2 separate regions of the Homo sapiens genome follow, and region 1 is linked to region 2. Evidence: promoter capture Hi-C in human tissues and cell types (Jung and others, 2019). All regions are on one chromosome and are shown on one strand. The core of a region is centred on a gene start or on the middle of the fragment in contact, and the rest is flanking DNA. Distances in the headings are between cores, read along the strand shown. Region 1 overlaps TECRL (trans-2,3-enoyl-CoA reductase like). Region 2 holds the start of TECRL (trans-2,3-enoyl-CoA reductase like).

Region 1 (4,372 bases), core at 1,587-4,086, 34 kb after region 2:
TGGTTTTATTTCTGTACTTTTACTTTTAGACAAGTTCTTTGTTTTAATAAAGTTTAGTGACAAATTTAGGTTTTTATACTACAAAAACCTCATCAAATGAATGTCAAGTGGTTGCTGTTTTTTCTTATACTTTAATTTTTATTGCTGTAATCAGGATGAGCAGTATTTTGGAGACAGCTGTTCATCTTAAGAATTTACTGTGAAAGTGGCTAAAATACGGTTTTAAAAAGAAGCAATATTACAAAAAAAGGTTTCTGTGAAAAACTGTAGTAAATGCATATTGGGCAAATTCAAACAAATTCCAGATTAAATGCTTGAACGAAAAAGCTTTTTTGTTTTCATCAACTTAAATGTAGGATAAAGTAATTATAACTCAAATTTTAATTATAATCAGTTAAAATTTAGAAGTAAATTCTTGGTTTAACTAACATCATTTGCCTTGCCTACTCACTATTTTAAGATTCATTTTCTTTTAAGAGGAAGAAACATTAATGAAGGGAATATTAAGGTTTCAAATGTAGGGTTTCAGATAACTCCCATCTGTATAATTATGGAAATGAATAAATTATCACGATGATAGTTTATCCTTTTTAAGATGTTGTAAAACTGACTAAAAAGTGGAAGTTATGATAACTAAACTCCCTGATGAAGCCACTGAGACATCAATTTAGTCATCAGAAGCTCTTATATGCTCAGCTAATTATCATATTTTCCTCTCTTTGTGCTTTCAGTACAACTAAAGGACTGAAAAGAGCAGATCAAGTACAATCCTGTGGCTAATTGAATATATGTCTCAATCATTTAGTAGTTAATTTCTTTCTGATTTATTTTGTCCAAAATTACTGCAGAAAGGGCAGTTCTCAAGAATTTATTCAAAATCAGCACTTTTCTAACAAGTGAAAGTCAAATGAAAATTTTTAGAAATGTTAAGAGTGTATAATACATCCCTATTCCACATGAAGGTTTCGTTCAGGAAAACAATGTTAGTCTTGAAAATAAGCAAATTGAAAGAAAAAAGCATATATCAAATTAGAAGTTTGTCTATTGCATTATTCTGGCGTGGAGAATGGCATACAGCTTTTGCATATCAGATTAAGAAACTTTGATCTTACTCTGGTTTTACGTGTTTGCACTCACAGCTTTATTTTTGACTTCTACAAAAGTTAATTAAAGCTTATTATATGCTCTGTGGTGTACTACATGATAAAACAAAACAAAAGTAACACTAGGTCATTATCCTCAGCTCCATATAGATTAAACAACCAATGCATAATACAAGATAATGTGCCCTCATAAAGTGTGAGAGGAACACATATCAAACTCAAATCGAGGGATTATTGATTATGAAAATTATTTTTTATTTAAAATTACATGGCCCTTGATACAACTAATGGACAAATATTTGTTACTCTGGGGAATATCACGTGGCCTTTACTCCACTCTGTCAGAGAAAGCAACATATAAAGGTGCTGAATGAATAAGAAACATTGAGATAAAACAACGGACACTGTTAAAACAATATTTTAAAAATTAAATTTAAATATTAAAGGTTAATAACCAAAATTAAAATATATGCACAAGTATATAAATATATATTACTCTCTATATAAACTGTTTTTAAATTTTTTTCTAACATCTTTCAGAGAAGAGCATTGCCATGAAATATTTATAACTTTATATACACAGAATGTTTTAGGATCATTTTGCTATTAATAGCATAACACAAATTGAAATACCTGTTACTTTTTAGGGCTTAAATCTTATAACTGTCTTATTTAGTAAATCATATACACACAGGAAATCATAAAAAAAGTTCTGAACAGTATACTGAATGCTTAGTCACAATCCTGTTAAGTAGAAGGCGAAATATGTTAAAATAAATGTATTTGTTGTTATACTTTCAGTGTATAATAAAACATCAAATGTAATGTAACAATTCTTATGGACTATTATGCACCAACATTTTATGCATTTTTTATTTAACCCTTTCAAAACAGTTATAAGGGGATTTTAGTGTAGCATAAATAAATCATGTAGACATATGATTATAATAAATTTCACTAGTATCGTATGCTTATTCAGGGAAAGGAAATATATTTTCTTGAATTATCATAAAATGTCTTTTGAGACAAATTCAGAAAAAAAAGTATTGCGATGGCTTGAAGTATTTGCATGGAACTTTAGTCCTCAATAATTTTTAAATTTAGATGAATAAAAAATATTTTATTCATTTTTTAATTTATAGAGTTTGTTTTAGTAATTTAGTACCAAATATTTTATCAAATTACTATGTACTTAAGGAATCCAAAAAATATATCTCACATGCATTTTAATGGACCTTTAGTACTTTTATTTGGGGATTTAAATAATGTCAGTAGGGGACTTAAGGTGACTTTTGTCTCATAAAATTCTGAGGTAAACATTTCTCTCATTTGTCCATATAAATTAACTTCACATCCTCGGGTACTATTGCTATACATTCTTTTACATTCCTGTGCATTAAGACATATTTTTAATTGATAGTTTTATGAGATGTGGAAAAATACATTGACTATTTTGGACAAAGAAAATTCAAAAATATATCTTAGGGATACAAATTGGATTGAATTAATGTAATAAAGCTATTACTGTTGTATACAAACAAATTTTTTTAAAAAATTATATTGTTACTGATTGCAACATTTCAAGCTTGTCAAAATAGTAATCACTAAAAAGATAAATGAAGCAAAAATTCTTATTGTGTAAGAATTTTATGATATATTTAAACTTTTTTTTCTTAAATGGATAGAAAACAAATTAACAGTTTTTAAAAATAACTCTATTTTCTTTTCCTTTTCAGGTGACACAATCATCTACTATTCATGATGTTAAGCAAAAGTTTCACAAAGCATGTAAGTTTTATATATTATTTAGAATTTACATCATAATGTTTTATTTTCAAATAGGTTTAAATTTTTCTATAAGTGCAATATATGTTAGAGTGTATGAAAACCATAGTTCTACAAGGAGCTCAGGAACAATAGTTTGCTTAATATTTCTTTGGCATAAATATTCTAGCATTTAACTCTAATTGATCCTTTAATCTCCAGCATTTCCAATTTTTCTTCACAAAGTTGTTTTTAATTTATATTTAAACTTAATTTTATTATAACAGGAAACTTTCTATATGTTATAAAGACACATGCACATGTATGTTTATTGTGGCACTATTCACAATAGCAAAGAATTTCAACCAAACCAAATGTCCAACAAAGATAGACTGGATTAAGAAAATGTGGCACATACACACCATGGAATACTATGCAGCCATAAAAAAGGATGAGTTCATGTCCTTTGTAGGGACATGGATGAAGCTGGAAACCATCATTCTCAGCAAACTATTGCAAGGACAAAAAACCAAACACCGCATGTTCTCACTCATAGGTGGGAATTGAACAATGAGAACACATGGACACAGGAAGGGGAACATCACACACCGGGGCCTGTGGTGGGGTGGGGGGAGCGGGGAGGGATAGCATTAGGAGATATACCTAATTCTAAATGACGGGTTAATGGGTGCAGCACACCAACATGGCACATGTATACATATGTAACAAACCTGCACATTGTGCACATGTACCCTAAAACTTAAAGTATAATAATAATAAAAAGAATTTCTGGAAAAAAAAAGAAAACATTAAAAAAGAATCTATGAATAAAAACCTTCCCATAAAGAAAAAAAAGAATATAGAAATAAATTGCAAATGGTGAATGTACCTAAAATTTATAAACATTTGAGTACAATCTATTTAAAATTCGTAATGAAATGGAAAGCCTATGCAGGAAGGAATACAATTGCTTGAAATATGCTTACTCAGTTTAAAATTCTTGAGGAAGGTGATATTTTTTATTTTGCTATAAAGTCATATAGGAATTGGTTATGTTGAACAGTGCCAGAAGAGCACTATAATAAGGGACAAAGAACAAAACCAAAAAGATAAATATATATATATATATATATATATATATATGTATCTACTATATACATATATATATATGTATCTACTATATACTATACTATAGTATAGTAGATATATATATATCTACTATATACTGTATACATATAGTGTGTATGTATAGTATATATATAGTGTATATAGTATATATAAGTATTTTTGGTGTATTTCTACTTAAAATAAATTTATTTTAATAGTTATTTCTATCTTAGCATAAAACATGGATCTCATTAAGCTAGTAATTGAATTGCCACCTTTGTGGCATTACACTGACTTAGACCAATTCTATCTAATAAAGTGTCTCCAGACAGTTTAGATTACAGTAGTAAGTAGGAAGACATTTGAAAATGACTTTTTAATATAAAGTAGAAAGGTGT
Region 2 (4,700 bases), core at 21-2,520:
TAGTGGATCTCTGATGGATTAGATGTGAGGTGTGGGAGAAATGGAGAAGTTAAAGATGATTCCAAGTTTGAAGTGCTGAACAACCAGATGATAAAGTTGCATAATGTGTGCCCACACATACGTGTAAAAAGACACATATCCCTATCATTTATATTTTTGAAAATATAAAATATTGAATGTAATGTAATATAAAATATTAAGTGTCAACATAATAACTGAAGAGTGTAAAGTGAATCTCTAGGGCATAATGTATAATAAAATTAAAAATGAATACATTATTTTAGTTGTTTATAAAAGTAAAGATTAGCCTCAGGTAGATAACAGGTTTCCTCCCCTATATATTTTGTGTCATTTTATTTGTATGTTTTCATTGAAAATCACATTCCAGAATATTTTCCTTTAATATCATTTTGAATCAGTGATAATATGTTTTGGATTTTTTTTTCAGTTGTTTCTTCATCAGATTTACATATCTCAGAGGACTAGGAGTTTTTCTAAAAGCTCTTTTGCCAGGATGTTTTTCAGATTTCATTTTTCATTCTGAGGCTATCTGTATTTTCTATAACATAGTGTTGTGGAAAATGTGATGCTGACTACAGATTTTGTATATCAGTTCAACAGATTTCCAAAGATATACAATGTTAAAATAATGTTTACTTCTTTTTCCCCAGGTTACAAAATTGTTCTCTATCAAATTCTAATCTCATAGTTTGCTATCTTTTCAATGTTTATATGAAGTGAAGAATTCATCATTTTATATTGTGTAACAGTTATTTTAAGTTCGTTGGGATTTGTAATTAGTACTGACAAAAATAAATTTTTCACTTTAGAATGCTTTACATGCACATGCACATATATTTATATATAAAACATATATAAACATATATATGCCACTTCTCTTTACCTTAGACAGGATTTTTTAAATGTTACATAGTAATGTACTAGGACTTTTAAAAATTTAACTTTAAGATAGCACTTTGCTAATGTTAAATACATCTCAATGCAAATGTGTGTGTGTGTTTGAAGATCAGTGCATCCAGAACTCAGAGATGATGAAAATGTTCTGTCTATTCTTGCTTTGGAATTTCAGATAAGAGTAGTCATATTACAAAGCAGAGATAAAAGGAGAAAGCAAGAAATCATTCAATTGCTGGTAAAGTAATACTCTACACAGCAAATCACAATAGCGTGTTATATATAGAAATAAGATCAGTCACTGTTTTCAAGCCTGCTAAATAAAACTGAACTCTTGGAATGGCATACCATTTGACCTTTCAAAGGTTCTCCAGCAGTATTTAACTGATGCAAAAGGAACACACTTGCAATTTTCTACTTTTGACATGACAGACCCTCCTCTTAGTTCACACAATGTTCAAAAGGCACAAGTCCCTCGCTTCGGAACGCAAGAGAGCATTACTTTCCCAAAGAGCTACACGGTTCATACTGAAGGATGATATGAGAAATTTTCACTTTTTGTCAAAACTTGTACTCTCAGCGGGCCCTCTAAGACCAACTCCAGCAGTCAAACATTCAAAAACGACTCACTTTGAGATTGAAATATTTGATGCTCAAACAAGGAAACAGATATGTATTCTGGATAAGGTGAGTTTATTTATTTATTTATTTGTTTGTTTGTTTAAGTGTTTCTTCTCTGCCCCAAATATTATTGATTGCTTGATTAAATTCTAACACGACTGTTCTGAAATACATTTCTGACTTTTACCTTAATTTTGTGGTGAACAGGATGCATACTTTATGCATTGTTTTAATAGAAGATGTTCAATGCATCTCTCATACTCAATTTAAATTAATTAAATGGTAGATAATAATGAGGTTCTGTCATTGGTCTGTGAATTTTATGCTGTCATTGACCATTGTCCACAGGTAAAATTACAAATGCTCAACCTATTTTCCTACATGTAAAATGTCTCCAGGTTTTTGTCTTCGTGTACTTCATTGTATATACAAATTATCATAGAGTTTGATTAGTTTCTATAGAAAATAGTAAGCAAAAGCCACAGTAGTTGTTAGAAGTAACATGTAATATGTCTGAAAAAATTTAATCATTTAAGCATTATTTTGAATTGATTTTATTATTTTTCTTAAAAAGTGACTACCTCACTTTTTATGAAAGTTTACTTGCTTCAAAAACACTATTTAAGTTCATGAAAATAATGTTTTGAAATGTTACTCGTCCAAATCCATATTCACAGGTGTTGCACTAAGGAATGAGAAAATATACTCTTCTTAGGTTAGAAAACTAAATTATAAATATATGTTTATATTTTAGATAAATATATGCATAAATAATATTCCAAGCATTTTCAGTTTTTAATAAATTTGAAAAGTACTATTAACTTAATATGAGAAAGGCATATTTGTACAGGTAATAAAATAGAGCTTGATCTTGTTTTACAAAAATATTGAATACGTTTTTGTTGCTGTGTTCTAAAAATAAAATGCAATCAATCATTCCGTTTTTCCATGTTCTAGCTAGGTCTTTAGAAAAAAGGAAAAAAGAAGCTGTTTAGTCCTTTCTTTAATAATTGCCAAGCACATAATATATAATTTCTTATTCAGTAATTATAACACTATGAGCAGTTTATAAATTGAGTTATATTAACTTTAATTCATAGATGGAAAAGAAAGATTAAGACCTTTTATTAGTGCACACAGGTCATGAATTGAACTAAAAGATCTAAAACCATTTCTGTACAGTTTTAAATCATATGCTTTTTCTATAGTTCTACTGAGGCCATATATAAGCGATGAGTATATATCATACAAAATAGAATTTTGATATATTTATTTCAGGACTTCTATAATTTACTTTTATTTTAGTATCAAGGTGAAGTTTTGAGATTTTTAAATATCATACAAAATATTTAATATTTAAATATATTACACAAATATTTTATATTTAAATATCATAAGAAAAATAAAAAAATAAAATTACTCTTCAGAAGTTGCTAATGTTTATAATATTCCACTATGAAAAACACAAATCTTACAAGAAAAAACACAGTTAAATTCAAGGACACAGTGCAACAAATGGAATGAAAATCAAATAAGTCAAGGATTTCCAAAGACTACAATTCTAAAATGACACTGGTTATTGTGTCCTTTCTGACAGGTGTATAGACCCTGACAGGCAATCCACCTTAAAGTAATGAAAAACTCATGATGTTTAAATGTTCTTTTACTTAATTACACACACACACACACACACACACATGCCAATTAGTTCCTAATTATTTGCCTTACACATTTAAATTTTTTCTTATTCATATTTTATTTGAAGGTAAGACAGGGATTTTTATATTTTTACGTGTTAATTAAATTGTGAAAAAAATTAAACATTTAGAAGAAATGAAATTTAAATATTCATTATTCAGAGATAAGAATTTTGCAATTTTGCATGGGAGTCTCATGTTTGAACTATGAGAGTCCTGACATTTGCATCTCAAGTGGCAGATCTTTATAGAAACTTAGCAGGCTAAATAGAGGATTAACACTGGATAGCTCATAATCCTTTATTGCACAATCACCCCTATATAATGTGCAATTTACTGCATTCAAATCTTTGATGTCTGAGTAGAAGTGGATCTTGCTGTGTCTTGTTTTAGTTTGTAAATTGATAAACTGTTTCATAATAGTGGTGAGACACTTCAGAGAAAAAAGTCTTCTAGATTAATTTTTTTTTTTTGCTTAGTAATTTCTAACATTTTGAATTTGTAAACATAAAAAAGACTGATTTATTTATTATTATTATTATTCCTGATGTTATTTTTCTTAGACAAATTAACAACTTTGTAGTAAGATCATATTAAGTGCCTTTCATTGTACCTGGCTCTACCCAGTGTACAAAAGAAATGTTGCTTATAACTTAGTGCCCGTCTTTCAATACTTACTATGCTGTAAAGTGGTACAATTTACATACCATGTACTTTGGAATTAAGCATATCTGGACTCAATCCCTGTTACATCATTTGTGTCTATCAAGGAGTAAGAAAGTCACTGAATTGCTCATCCCCAAGACCCTTATTTAGAATATGGGTTAATAAAATCATATCAATAAAGTTAATAAATGTTACTTTGGAAACTTCTAGTAGAGTAGGGATAATATATGTTACATGCTTAGAATAGCGCTTTGACCATAATATGGACAAAATTATTATTATTATTTTATTTTTAATAATCATTTGGAGAGAGAAAGTAATATACATAAAATATAACAATAACAAATGCTGAGCCTTTTGATAACTTGCTAAGAATTTAAATTTGACTTCTTAATATTTAATTATTCTTTGACATGATTTGTTATAATGCTTAGGATAGATATATTTATCAAATATCTTAAATGAGATGTATTATCTTAGTAATGTATGTTCTAACAGAAACTTTGTTTTATGTCTATTACTCAAACTTTAAAATGGACAAAGTATAGACTCAAAATATTCATGAGATAAAAATTTTGAGAAAAGTCCTAGGATGAAAGAAAATATATTTATTATGTTCTTTAACTTAATTACACACATACACACACACACACACGCGCGCGCGCGCGCGCGCCTAACAAATAAAAAAGCTTTCTCTTGCCTCTGCTGTCGTCTCTAGTTTTTGCCCATTTCTCTCATTACTTTCCTTAGGTATTCATATTGTCAGCTTTCATTTGCCTCTTCTCACTGTATCCTAGTCCC

What was found. Contacts are between HindIII fragments. The study calls those that stand out against the background at their distance.
Region 1: a fragment that was not itself captured here is called in contact with the fragment with the promoter of TECRL in region 2 in 1 of the 25 tissues and cell types used here (heart left ventricle).

Annotation. Positions count from the first base shown.
Region 1 is chr4:64,373,691-64,378,062 of GRCh38, reverse strand. TECRL (trans-2,3-enoyl-CoA reductase like) reads left to right here. Exons shown (of 12, transcript NM_001010874.5): 2 at 2,840-2,891. Among named protein-coding and RNA genes, the nearest start is that of TECRL, 34 kb to the left of the region's middle. The HindIII fragment of the contact is 4,172 bases long and covers 751-4,372 here.
Region 2 is chr4:64,406,020-64,410,719 of GRCh38, reverse strand. It overlaps TECRL (trans-2,3-enoyl-CoA reductase like), which reads left to right and starts at 1,270. Exons shown (of 12, transcript NM_001010874.5): 1 at 1,270-1,602. The coding sequence starts at 1,369. The HindIII fragment of the contact is 12,915 bases long and covers 1-4,700 here.